Regions from separate parts of the Homo sapiens genome. Here region 2 is linked to region 1. Evidence: promoter capture Hi-C in 16 types of primary human blood cells and fetal thymus (Javierre and others, 2016). All regions are on one chromosome and are shown on one strand. The core of a region is centred on a gene start or on the middle of the fragment in contact, and the rest is flanking DNA. Distances in the headings are between cores, read along the strand shown.

Region 1 (6,970 bases), core at 1,532-4,031:
AAAATCCTCTACATTCTTACGTCAACATCTTTCTCAACAACCAGTGGAATCCTTTCGGCAGCCATGCCCCCCAACACATACAAAACACACACACACAATTATAAATAACTTGCCAGCAAAACAAACAAACAAACAAAAAAAAACAAAAAAAAACTAAATTATATAACCCAGCAAATATCTGCTATGGTTAAAATAAATTCATTGAAAATGTTCATATTTATCTGAAAATCCATCAATAGGTACTGATTAAACAAATTATGGAATACTACAAAGCTACGAAAAAGAATAAGGTCTATACAGGGCTCACATGAACAAGTCTCCAAGAGAGCAAGTGGGGATGAGGCCGGATGCGCTAGTGTCTTACTCACTATGCTCAATAAAGCAACCAGGGAAAGGCAGGGGAAGGGCAGTAACAATGAAGTTGTCTCTGTACTTACTTTAAAGAAAAATGATTTCAAAAGACATATGGTAACAATTATGCATAGGTGAATTCCGGGGTAAGGAGCAAAATAGGACATTTATGGAATCAAAATGTAAGCCAGCCAGCTATTTATGCGCAGTCGATGACGGCCTGGATAGAAACTGACTGGAAACAGTTACAGACATATTTGGGGATTACGTGTGTTAAACTCATTCTATTTGTAGTATGAATACACAAGGGATGTTTATATATAACCAGTCCTATTACTAATAAGGCAGAGTCCTGTCTCTAAATGGTATTGGAGAATGTGTGAGCACGTGGGGTGGGCTAGGGGTGGTTGTCATATCAGGGTTATGTTGAGGGCTCTGAGAAAAAGATTAGTCAGGAGGAAATCACAGTACTTTAATCTTAGGATTCCACCAAAGGAAATGGGAATTCAGAACTATTTAGCATAAATCAAAACACCACAGATAAAAGGAAAATATTGACTATTTTAGATTTTGTTTTTTAAAAGATTCTTGCACACAAGGACCAGGCCCTCTATTATTTTAATTATAATGTCGTTATTGGCTATGTTGTATTATGCCTGGTGTCTAGTGTTGAAAAGAGTCATTACCTACGTTGCTAAAAGTCATAATAAAATATCTTTTTATTTTTTATTTATTTATTTTGAGACAGAGTCTCACTCTGTTGCCCAGGCTGAAGTACAGTGGCGCAATCTCAGCTCACTGCAACTTCCACCTCCCGGGTTCGAGTGATTCTCCTGCCTCAGCCTCCTGAGCAGCTGGGATCACAGGCGAACTCCACCATGCCCAGCTAACTTTTTTTTTTTTTTTTTTTTTTTTTTTGTATTTTTGGTAGAGATAGGGTTTCACCATGTCGGTCAGGCTGGTCTGGAGCTCCTGACCTTGTGACCTGCCTGCCTCGGCCTCCCAAACTGCTGAGATTACATGCGTGAGCCACCGTGCCTAGTTTAAAATATCTAATTTCAAAAACATATGAAGATAGAATAAATATTGTCAGGCTAAAATATTTTTTCAAACATTAATACTTACTTCCAATTCTAATAAAGGAAAATGTGTACAAGCTAAACTGTGATTTAAGCATATCCACAAAATGTACAGCACAACCTAAAGACTACTTCAAAGTCCAGTCCTGCTACTTTCTAGCTTAGACAACTGTTAAATTTTCTGAGGCTCTATTTTCTTACTTGTGAAAAAAAGGAATAGTTACTTCTCCAAGGGTTGCCAGGTGTTTTGGCTGTGAAAAGATCTAGTAGGCACAGAGTACGCTTCAATCGAGTGTACGAGTATGTGCATTTGAGACGATCCAATCTTTCCAGATGAGCTTTCCTTTCAAGTGCCTAGCTGTCTGCCCCCTACCCACCCCTCACCATCCTTGTACTGCTACGTGCCAATAAAACCACAGAACAGAGGTCACAAGCTGACTGCTCACAAGCCCAATACAGTGCACACTCAGGTTTTGTTTTAGCCCACAGGGTATCAGGTCTACACTGGTTTGTAAGGTATTCGATTTAGACACCAACAAATGAAATCAGAGGAGACATATAAAGGCAGTAGCAGTGCACAGGCTCCAGGATCTGCCCAGCTCCAGCAACCTGATGTAACATCTCCATGCCTCAGTTTCCTTGTCTATTAAGAAAAAGGTGGGGAAGAAGTAGTAGACAGACCTACTTTACTCATGGAGCCATTGTGAGTAATCAAGCTAAAACACACAGAGTGTTTAGAACAGTACATGCAAATCAGCGTTTAATGTTCTGAAGACACTGGCCCATCCCAAGATGAGGCCCATGACTCTGGCAAGCTTCCAGACACAACTGTCCCCCTGGGTGGGCCCTTTAGCTTTCCATTTCTCCATACTCCCTCTACTCCCAAGTGTCTTACACAGAGTCCAACCCATTTGTACCACCTGCCACGAGGGGACCACCTGTAGGGCTATCCTTTTGGCCTTGGACTTTGCAACTCCTGGCATTAAGAGGCAAGCAAGCAGCTCCAGTCAAAGAAATTATCATGTTCTCCCCAGTCATACTCAATAACATCTATGTGAAACACCCCACGGGGAAGTCAAGAAGCAACAAATTATCATGTTCTCCCCAGTCATACTCAATAACATCTATGTGAAACACCCCACGGGGAAGTCAAGAAGCACAAAAGGGACCCGGAACAATTAATGGGTGTTTTTGAGACTGTCAGAGTAAACAGCATCTCCTGCAATAAATCAGGGAAGTCTTGAGAGTCGCACCTTAGAGATACGGTTCCTGCCAAATCATCAATTTAATCAGCAAAATGTTTACATCTGGAGGACTCTGCAATGTGCCCTGGTAATAACCAGGCTCTAGCGGCTCCTCCTCACATCCACTTGTCCTTAAGTTTATTTACCTACCAGATCTCACTGCAGCTGAAGCTAACAAGCCTCTCTATGCACATCAGTATTCTTAGCCCCTCAATCAAAGCATCAGTGAGGACTATTGGGGCCCGCTGGGGGTCTGAAGAAGAGTCCCTCTGGCAGGGAGAAATGGCGAACTTCTCTAAACAAGCTCTGTGTCTCACAGGTCTTTGCCAAGGATCAACAGTGACTAGCAAGTCTGTGAGACAGAAAGTAAGAAAATACTCTTCATGAGGGAAATAACTGTTTGGGTATGTGTCAGTCACTACTCCATCTCCAATGTCCAGAACACTGCCTCCTACGTAGCAAGTACATATAAAGCAACTAGAATAGTAACGGGCATGTCATAAGCCAGTTATAATTATTATAACTAAATGTATAGCTATGTTTTTAAGGCAAGCTGAACTTTACTAGTTGTTACCCATAATTTGGCAATGGAACAGCCTAAGTAAATACACTTAAAATGCAGGAACCTTATAAAGTAAGCTTTTCAGCCCCTTGTCTTCTTTCTTTCTGGTTCTGAGTTATACACTTTGAAGAGGACTTTGTAGCCATCTTCTGAAAACTTCCAAATCTAATGGCACTAATAGTCAATGGGAAAGACAGTGGAGCACTGCAGGACATCACCAATTATATTACAGAGCCTGAAAGGAACTAAAAATATGAAGACTTTCAAAATAGTAACACAGCACAAACACCAAAATGTTAACACACGAGGAGTTTATCTGAAGTCCTACTTGTGATCTATTTATCAGTAATGTTCAAATATGGGAAAATTAATGTGGGAAAAATGACAATGCAACACCTCTTATCTAGAATATGTCGACATTGGTGTCAAAATACTTCTTTATTCTGTTAATTCCGCATTTCCAGGTAGCTCCAACTACCCATCTCTGCACGTTATACTGTGAAGCTGCTGACAATTTTCTGAGGGTGCTTCAGAAAGAACCATATCTTACACATCAGTTCTCCACCTCATACCACATGTTGAATTTGACAATGGCAAAGGTTAGAAAAGAAAACAGGTTTTTGCCTGGCTGTGCATCAGATGATGTAGGGATGTGGGGAAAAGTAGGAGGAGAAATAAGAAAGCAGGACTGTTTTTGCATTACTGGAGGAAAGGAACTAGCTCAGAAGTCAGCCTAACACCCACAGAGATTAAAACGTCTCTTCCTTCCTCTTTGTTTCCACGTCCCAGTCTTCAATAAATTCTATCTGACAACAGCAGCAGAGGGACCCACTATCTTGTGGTTTCTGTCAAGTTCCTGATTTTCATCCGTAGTTGAAGATGAGCAAGAACTCTGTAACAGTGTTACCTTGGAGCCTACAATGAGAGGTATTTCAAAATGAGTGAAGCATGACTCTCACAGATGAAGGCCTAGACGCAGGTAAGAAAACAGCTTTTCCATGAAATGACTTGCATGTATGTGAATGGTGCATGGGAACAGAAAAGATTTCTGAGCTGGGCAGCAACAAAGCTGAGGAACACTGAACCATTGCCACTCACATTTTTCTCAGTAGGTTACTTTTTGTTTGACAACTATAATTGGTATATTAATATATTTCCCCATGCTAATATGGGGATCCAATACTGAAATATTATCATTTATGATTTAGGATTTCCAATCGTGGCTGTCAAAATATATCTGTGATGAAGAGATATCAAGGAAAATGTTTAAAAGGTATTCATCCAGGACAAACATTTCAAAAGCTCGTAAATGTGTATTAAAATTGCTTCTCAAAACTACAAAATCGATTAGCATAATACTTAGGTCAGTATGTCTTTGTTTGCAATTGCATATGTGTACAGATATATAGTTGCATTTACTTGTACATACACTTATATAGGTAAAAGTTTTTATCTTTGTCATTATTAGGATAAGTTAACCCCATTAACACCTACTAAAATAAAATGCCTTTAAATTGTAAATCACAGAAATATCTGTCCTAGGCATAGCAAATATTTGAGTTCATATGCTACTTATTTATAGTCTATGACTAATCAGCTAAATTACTTACAATTCTTTAAACATTATAAATTAAATTACATTCAGGAGAATTAGCACAGACCCACAATGTCAGCTTATTCAACCAAGCCCATGCAATCCATCTTGTCTACATATACTTTGTTAACCAAGGACAATCAATCCTACGGAGAAAATGAATCAAAGATCACACTAGTAAAAAAATAAATAGTTTGTATATTCATCTTTCTAAAACATACAAACTTGATAATCAGTTTTAGCACTAAAAAAAAACCTAGCCATTAAGTTAAAAAGAAAACAATGCACTCGGAAAATACCAAAATGGCATATTTTATGATTTGTAAACATGCAATGAATTTTATATTTCGGTAAAATTTATGAATACTATATATACAAACATGCATACAATTGTGTGCACACAATTAACACATTGGTATATATGAATGAACTCTATATTGTCATGTCTGGAAAAAAAAAAAACAAGGAGGCCAGGCATGGTGGCTCACACCTGTAATCCCAGCACTTTGTGAGGCCAAGGTGAGTGGCCTCAGGAGAGGCTGGTCAGGAGTTCAAGACCAGCCTGGCCAACGTGGTAAAACCCCTATCTCCACTAAAAATACAAAAATTAGCTGGGTGGTAGTGGTGCATGCCTGTAATCCCAGGTACTCAGGAGGCTGAGGCAGGAGAATCGCTTGAGTCTGGGAGCCAGAGGTTGTGGTGAGCTGAGATCGGGCCACTGCACTCCAGTCTGGGCGAGAGAGTGAGACCCTGTCTCAAAAACAAAAACAAACAAAAATAAAACCAAAAGAACAGTGGGGAGATTCCAAGGTACTCAAAGCATGAAGACACAGGGGAAGTGGGCCGGGTGCAGAGGAAGAAGTATAATTTCCTGAAGTATTACGGTGCCCACTTCACAGTTGAAGCAGGTACAGAGGGTGTGACTATCCTGAGCAAGGCCACCTATGATGCTTCTAAAGTGCTGAACAGAAGAAGAACACGGCTCCCTAGAAGAACGTTCACTCTATAAAGTGCTTCTGAGTGAATTTAGATGTTGAGGCTTCCCTAAGCCTAAGGCTCTATGAACTCAGAAGTCACAGGTTTATTCCATTTGGCCCCAGGATATCCTTAGAAGTTAGGTCGGTCACAAGTGAGCTGTTTCAACCTCCCAGTGTGAGCAGTCTCTAGAATACCAAAAACAGACCAGTCCAGGAGGTAGGCTGACACCAACACAAGCATATTCTGCCATCATCATGAGCATCCTCACCTGCAGAAGGCTGTCTAGTGGAGGATGATGGACAATAAGGAGTGTTTCCTTTAATTGAAAATTATATCAGTACAAGAGTGCCAAGTTTGTTTGGATAGAGCAGTGGATCTCAAAGTGCAGATACTATACCAGCTGAATCAACATCACCAGTGAGCTTGTCAGACATGCAAATTATTGACCCCAAACCTACAGAATCAGAAACAATGGGGGTGGAGCCCAGCAATCTCTTTTAACAAGCCCTCCAGGTAATTCTGTTGCACATTCAGTTTTGGGTGACCCCATGTCCTGGGACAGATCCAGTTTTCACCTGTTGTCTGGGCATAATTGAAAATAGTGCCTCCTTTCTATCTCAAAAGTGTCCTTGATTGTATAATAAATTAATTATGATCATCAATATGATCACCCTGCCAGTTCATACTGGATGCTAAGAAGGCATTTCATTGGCCAGATGCTGTCTACTACTTGGGATTTCAAATTAGCTTCAAGTCTGGTGCTACACCCATAGCCTCCCCACCATCACCCCGCAATACTAAAAGATGCATTGCCTCCTAAAAGTCTGAGCAGCACAGCTAGATAAATCAACTTCAGTAAAAATATCCTATCTTAATGAGAAAAAATACCTACAACCAAACTATGTAAAATCTATTTTAAATTCTCAGCTTCCTAAGTAGCATGAGAATCAGGTCTCCAAAACCCTCTTTACTAAATTTTCTGGTTCTTCTTTACAGGGAATTTTCTTTTCCTCCCTAGCACCCTTAAAAAGGATAAATCTAGTAATTAATGAATGCTATTTTTATAGTAATCATTTGGTTACATTAATTCACCGAAACACCAAGTTTACCACAGCAAAGCTTCTCAATCCACCTGTTCTTTAAAGTCAAAGTGAAATACTGG
Region 2 (6,970 bases), core at 1,349-3,848, 580 kb after region 1:
ACCCCAAAGTCACAGTTAGTCAGGGCTGGTGCCTGGTTCTCAAATCTCAAGTTCCTGAGTCAAGCTAGACACCAGGAATGGAGAAGGGGAAAATATAAACTGACCCAGCATCATATTATCTCTGAACGGCCAAAACAAGAGTGGCATCAACTCATGAGAAAATAAGGGACTGTTCTTTCCGTAGTAAGTAGATCCAAGGGAAGGAGATTCCATAAAATGTTCAAAAAAGGTCTTAAATAGAGGGTCTAAACAAGGAGTACTTAAACAAATTAATTCACCACACAATTGAGAAAATGCCAGGGCAGTCACAGAACTGAGCTACAGCAGGCACAAGCGGAGTAAGCACAAGCACTGTCACCCTTGCTGTCTGCCAGCCCCGTGTCTCATCCCCACATCCTGACTTCCAGTCTGCTCTCTGAGGACCCTGGTTGAATTTCCTAACTTCTAAGATAGCTTCCAGCATCAAACTGTTAGTATTGTCCAGAAAAGAAATGAGCTTTTTCTTATTTTCTCTTTTTAAATTACACTTACCTTATTTGTACCTCAATATCTGTACACATAGTTCCCTGTCCTGACCCTCCTTTCCTGCCGTGAGCCTGCTGGAAAGCTTTTCACTTTCCTCTCTGGTCACCACATTTTGCCCTTCCTTTTAAAGCAACTCAGATGTCTCCTCTCATCTGTGCTGCCTGCTCCTTTAGCCTGCAAGAACTCTACTTTCAAAAATATTCCCTAGCCAGGCACAGTAGCTCACGTCTGTAATCCTAAGAACTTTGGGAGGCCCAGATGGGAGGATCTCTTGAGCCCAGGAGCTTGAGACCGAGAGTTTGAGACCAGCCTGGGCAACATAGCAAGACGCCATCTCTACAAAAAGTAGTCCCAGATACTCGGGAGGCTGAGGCGGGAGGATCAGCTTGAGCCGGGAGGAGGAGGTTGCGGTGAGCTGAGATAGCACCACTGCACTCCAGCCTGAGCGACAGGGTAAGACCCTGTCTCAAAATAAATATAATACAGGCCAGGCACTGTGGCTCACGCCTGTAATCCCAGCACTTTGGGAGGCTGAGGCAGGCAGATCACGAGGTCAGGAGATCGAGACCATCCTGGCTAACACGGTGAAACCCCATCTCTACTGAAAATGCAAAAAATTAGCCAGGCGTGGTGGCACGTGCCTGTAGTCCCAGCTACTCGGGAGGCTGAGGCAGGAGAATTGCTTGAACCCAGGAGGCTGAGGTTGCAGGGAGCCGATATGGTGCCACTGCACTCCAGCCTGGGTGACAGAGCGAGACTCCGTCTCAAAATAAATATAATATAATATAATATAATATAATATAATATAATATAATATAATATAATATATAAAATTGGCCAGGCGTGGTGACACACATTTGTTGTCCTTGCCACTTGGGAGACCGAGGTGGGAGGATCACTGGAGCCCAAGAGTTCAGGGCTGAAGTGAACCATGATGCCGCCACTGCACTCCAGCCTGGGTGACAGAGTGACATCCTGTCTCTCAAAAATAAAAAATGTATATATTTTACAAAAATGTAAGTAAATACAAAGTCCCAGAAGGACGCAGGTGGTACCTAGGTGGCCAGATGCTTCAGGACTTTTCTACTCCAGGATGGATAGATGGGCCAAGTAAGAAGCAGGACCCAGATCACAGCAAGGAGCAAAATTTATGGGACGCTAAAAATGTCGCCAATCAAGATTAATTAATATTAATCTAACAATATTTAAGATAACTAACATTTAAGGCAATTTTAATACGCTTATTAATATTTAAAGCTATTTTAAAAATATCCGCAAACGAGGGCCCAAGGGCTGGCGCCTGATTTTGTAAATAAAGTTTCACTGGACGTTCCAGCAAGCATCTGTCTACTCAATAACCAGACTCCAGCATCCGCAATACCAAATGGCACCGTGTGTGTCCGTCGCTAGAAGCCACTTCCTCCACCCAAGTTAAAAAAAAAAAAAAAGGCCCCAAATAAGCTGAGAGACGAAGAAAAGATCGTTTCTCCGCAGGCTGCCAGGGGTTTCAGAGACGCTGAAGAGCAGGGACAGAAAGAAGTCTGCGGTGGCCCCCACCGGCCCTCGGCACCCACATTCTATCCGGCTAACCAGCTCCTGCCGCTTTAAATCCGGGAGGCTCGGTGGCGCAGGGCAAGCAGTTGCCCGGGGAGACCAACGCACAACAGAGGCTCGCGCTCGCGAGAGCCGACCGGGGCCGCGGCCAAAGAGCTGGCTGTAATCCCGCCTCCCGCCAGCCATGGCCCACTTGCGCTCGCCTAGCGGCTTCGGAGACCCGGGGAAGAAGGACCAGAAGGAGTCAGAGGAGGAGTTAGAGGAGGAGGAGGAGGAGGAAGAGGTGGAGGAGGAGGAGGAAGAGGTGGAGGAGGAGGAGGAAGAGGTGGAGGAGGAGGAGGAGGAGGTGGTGGAGGAGGAGTTGGTGGGGGAAGAGCAGGAGTTGGAGGCCCCTGAGACGTTCAGCGAAGAGTACCTCTGGAAGGTCACGGACATCGGTGACTACGACGACGACTTCCCAGACGTGCGCCCCCGCTTAGCCAGCATCGTCAGCCCTAGCCTGACCTCTACGTTCGTGCCCAGCCAGAGCGCGACCAGCACTGAAACGCCGAGCGCAAGCCCACCCTCCAGCACCTCCTCGCATAAAAGTACCGCCCCCGACCCACCCCTTCCTCGAGGGTTTCTCGTCTCCAGGGGGCACCTGGTCCACCCACTCCTGGGTGGTGCCTTCGTCGACCTGCGCGTCGTGCCTGATTTCTAAATGCATGCACCATTCCACACACCTAATCTCTCTCACGCCCTTGTCAGAGACACTGAACCCTTGGCTGAGCTGTTGTGATGAGGCACGATTTAGGATATAGGCGAAACACCATAAAAGTTGAACTTGGGCATGGCTGTATGAAGTGCTTTTTTTTTTTTAGACAAGAGTCTCGCTCTGTCGCCCAGGCTGGAGTGCAGTGGCTGCAGCCTCGACCTCCTGGGCTCAAGCCTCCCACCGCAGCCTCTCGAGTAACTGGAACTACAGGCACACGCCACCACACCCAGCTAATCTGGCGTCTCACTATGTTGCCCAGGCTGCTGGGAGTGCTCATTTTTATAACATTTTTGCGTGCATTCACACCGTGACATCTCTCTCTCTCTCTCTCTCTGTTCCCCCTCCCCTCCCTCTTCCTCCCCTCCCTCTCCCCTCCCCCTCTCTTTCTCTCTCCCTCTCTCTCTCTCTCACAGACACACACACACACACACACACACACTCATATTATTTCCAGAGAAGTGCCTTAAGGGTGCTGTACTACTGAAACAGTCCTGCAAAAAAAAAAAACAACTCTCTTTTGTGTTTAACATCCTGTGCTGAAGCCACTCCAGTCACTTCCTTGAAAAAAGAAGCAGAGAAGTCTTCTAGAGTAGGCTTCTCAAGCTCTAGTGTTGACATTTTGGTCTGGATAATTCTTTGTTGGGGAGGATTGGGGACTGTCCTGTGAATTACAGGATATTTGGCAGCATCCCTGTCCTCTACCCGTGGCTGTGCTAGAAGCACACATCCTTGCGATGATCAAAAATGTCTCCAGGCCGGGCGCGGTGGCTCACGCCTGTGATCCCAGCACTTTGGGAGGCCTAGGCGGGCAGATCACGAGGTCGGGAGATCGAGACCATTCTGGCTAACATGGTGAAACCCCGTCTCTACTAAAAATACAAAAAATTAGCCGGGCGTGGCGGCGTGCGCCTGTAGTCCCAGCTACTTGGGAGGCTGAGGCAGGAGAATAGCGTGAACCCGGGAGGTGGAGCTTGCAGTGAGCCAAGATCGCGCCATTGCACTCCAGCCTAGGCGACAGAGCGAGACTCCGTCTCAAAAAAAAAAAAAAAAAAAAAAAAGTCTCCAGACATTGCCATGTGTTCCTGGGGGGGGTAGAATTGACCTTTTGATTTAGAGGGAATAGCTGATTTTTAAATGTTTCATTCAACAGGTTTCCCTAAAATATTTCAGACATTTAGGAAAGACATGTCTGAAATGAGTATAGATAGGTAAGAAAATGTTTTCAAATTTCACATTTTTTGAACCCAATAATGTTTACCTTTTGGATAAACATGTTAGGAAGTAGAGTAAAATAATCCAGGGCATTTGTGACTTACTTATTTTAAAAAGTTTTTTTTAAATATACACTGGTAGACACTTTGAAAGAGATAAAGGTTCCCACTTATCCCCAGCTTATTACCTAGCTCTAGAGATTACATGTCCACTTATCAATGTAACATGAAAGAATAACTATATATGCCATGTGTGCAATTGTAAGTGCTTGAGAATTTTGAATATAGCTTTTATTGGCTAAATGCAAGAGTGACCAGGGACGCCTTTTGTGGAAGAGAGTGGAAATAATAGCTTTTCCTTTTTCCTCTCTCTCTCTTCTTTTTCTTGTTATTGCTATTAGCCTTCAGGCACTTTAACTATAGTAAGAAGATACCAGTGAAATGCCTTCTGGAACATCTTTGTAAATATTCCCTGAAATCTCACACCAAACCTGAGTCAATGATCTTGAATTATTAGTTACCCTAACTTTGCTTTTGTAAGCAACTTTTGAATTCTTAAGTCTAAGGAGAATTGTTCTGTCTCACTTACATGTTTTTAGTTATCCTTTTAATTCAATTTGTAATAAAGATAATGTATACATGTGGTTAAAAAAATCAAACTACACAAAGGTATAAAAATGAAAATCTCATGCCCTTCTTCACCCCCACTCCCACTCACCTTCAGTTTTGTTTCCATTATTTAAAATGACATTTTCATTTCTTGGTTTATCAATTTCTGACATGTGTATTGAATTCCCACCTCTCCACTTTGGTAGTTATATTATTTTTAGTTTTTCTAACATTTAGGACTTCGAGGTATTTAAACCTCTACTTCTTGATTCATCAATTTTAGTATCTATTGACTATAATGAAAAATTAACATGTTAATGCACTTCCTCCTTCCATCTTTCTTCTCTCCTCTTTTTTCCCAATTAACAACAAACTATATGAAATGATAAATTATATTAAAATGCAGTGTATATTTACATAAAGTTATATTACTTTTCCAAGCTTTATTATGCTTGTATTATGGTTTGTTAATTATAATTAAAGTGCTCTGGGGTTGTTTCTAAAAATTGAAAACCAACAAACAATACTAACACTTCTATGTTGACAAACCAGTAATATGATTGAATCTATGGACAAGAAAATATAATCCTATGTCTATAAAACTTGTCTCTTAAAAAGTAAAGTTTTTGCCAGATGCAGTGGCTCACACCTGTAATCCCAGCACTTTGGGAGGCTGAGGTGGGCAGATCACGAGGTCAGGAGTTCAAGACCAGCCTGGCCAACATAGTGAAGCCCTGTCTCTACTAAAAATACAAAAATTAGCCGGGCATGGTGGCGTGTGCCTGTATTCCCAGCTACTTGGGAGGCTGAGGCAGGAGAATCGCTTGAACCCAGGAGGTGGAGGTTGCAGTGAGCCGAGATCATACCACTGCACTCCAGCTTGGGCAATAGAGTGAGACTTCATCTCAAAAAATAAATAAAAAATAATAATAATAAAATAAACTTTTTGACTCTCTGTTGTTCTGTCTACAGTTTTTCTGGGTTGGCTCACCAGCCACACTTTATTGGTTCCCATATTGTCTTCTTTCTTTTGTTGCTTTTCCTTTTGCTGGAGAAACTCCTCAGGTGAATTTTTTATATAGGTCTCACGGATAGTCAAATTTCTGAGTTCTTGCCTGCTTTGAAATTTCTTCATTTTGCCCTTGTACTTGACTTGTTAATAAAAAAATAAATAAAAACCTGCCAAAAAGAAGAGATTTAAAACCATTTCACATGGTGAAACCTCGTCTCTACTAAAAATACAAAAAAAAAAAAAAAAAAAAAAAAATTAGCCGGGCATGGTGGCGGACGCCTATAGTCCCAGCTACTCTGGAGGCTGAGGCAGGAGAATGGTGTGAACCTTGGAGGAAGTGCTTGCAGTGAGCCAAGATCGCACCACTGCACTCCAGCCTGGGCAACAGAGCGGGACTCCATCTCAAAAAAAAAAATTTCCCTCAGAGATCTGAAGACATTGCTTCTTTGCCTCCTAGTAGCCAATACTGCCTCACCAGTCTTATCCTCAGACCATTCTGATATATAATTACTTCCTCCCCTTTTCTTCTTTTCTTCAGAACTCCTCCTAGATGCTGTTGGACCTCTTAGGTAGATTCTCCATCTTTAATAACATTTCCTTTGTATTTTCAGTATCTTCAGGATTTTTGATGTTTGTTTACATGCTACTATACAGCCCTTGTACAGAATTTTTTTATTGGAGGATTCATATTTGAAATTTCGAAGAACCAGTGCTTGTTCTCTGATTGTTGCTGTTCAAAATTATTTGGTTTGTTTTTTGTGTTTTTTTTTTTTGTTTTTATCTCTTTGAGGGCTTTGTTCTAATATATTAAAGTTCTCCTTTGTTCTTCGTATTATTTTTCCTTTCAAAGTCAATTGTTCTGTTTATTTCTCTTGCTTTTTCTCTTCAATGCTATTGATTTTTCTTAAGTGGTAATCCTTCGTTGCCCATTTTTATTTATAAATGAATGGCTGATAAATAGCTAGAAAGGAATCCTTCCCTAGCTTTAGTAGTTCTGTTTTCTGACAGAGCTTGCATAGGAGAGTCTGCTATGATCCCTGTGCAGATGGGTGGGGCATGTTAGAGTCATTTCCTGTGGAGTGTCTAGGCAGGGAGGAGTGAAGCTGGGAAATCCTACTATTACTAGAGTTAGGGCAAGGACACTTCAGTGTATGGTCATGGTTTATTTGTTTGTTTGTTTGTTTTTGAGATAGAGCCTTGCTCTGTCTCCCAAGCTGGAGTGCAGTGGCACAATCACGGCTCACTGCAGCCTCCACTTCCTGGGCTCAAGCCATCCTCCTGCTTCAGCCTCCCAAGTAGCTGGGG

What was found. The method cuts DNA at HindIII sites, captures the fragments that hold promoters and counts their contacts. A CHiCAGO score of 5 or more calls a contact.
Region 2: the fragment with the promoter of ERICH6-AS1 here is called in contact with a fragment that was not itself captured in region 1 in 1 of 17 cell types (total B cells); the score reaches 5.5 in total B cells.

The regions. Positions count from the first base shown.
Region 1 is chr3:151,275,532-151,282,501 of GRCh38, reverse strand. All of the region lies in intron 16 of MED12L (mediator complex subunit 12L), which reads right to left. It overlaps P2RY14 (purinergic receptor P2Y14), which reads left to right and starts at 3,960. Exons shown (of 3, transcript NM_014879.4): 1 at 3,960-4,215. The HindIII fragment of the contact is 1,068 bases long and covers 2,248-3,315 here.
Region 2 is chr3:150,699,192-150,706,161 of GRCh38, reverse strand. ERICH6-AS1 (ERICH6 antisense RNA 1) reads right to left here and starts at 2,598. Exons shown (of 3, transcript NR_121675.1): 1 at 2,495-2,598. ERICH6 (glutamate rich 6) reads left to right here and starts at 2,242. Exons shown (of 14, transcript NM_152394.5): 1 at 2,242-2,666; 2 at 3,984-4,041. The coding sequence starts at 2,264. RefSeq lists enhancers at 2,047-2,136, 2,287-2,366. The HindIII fragment of the contact is 4,487 bases long and covers 610-5,096 here.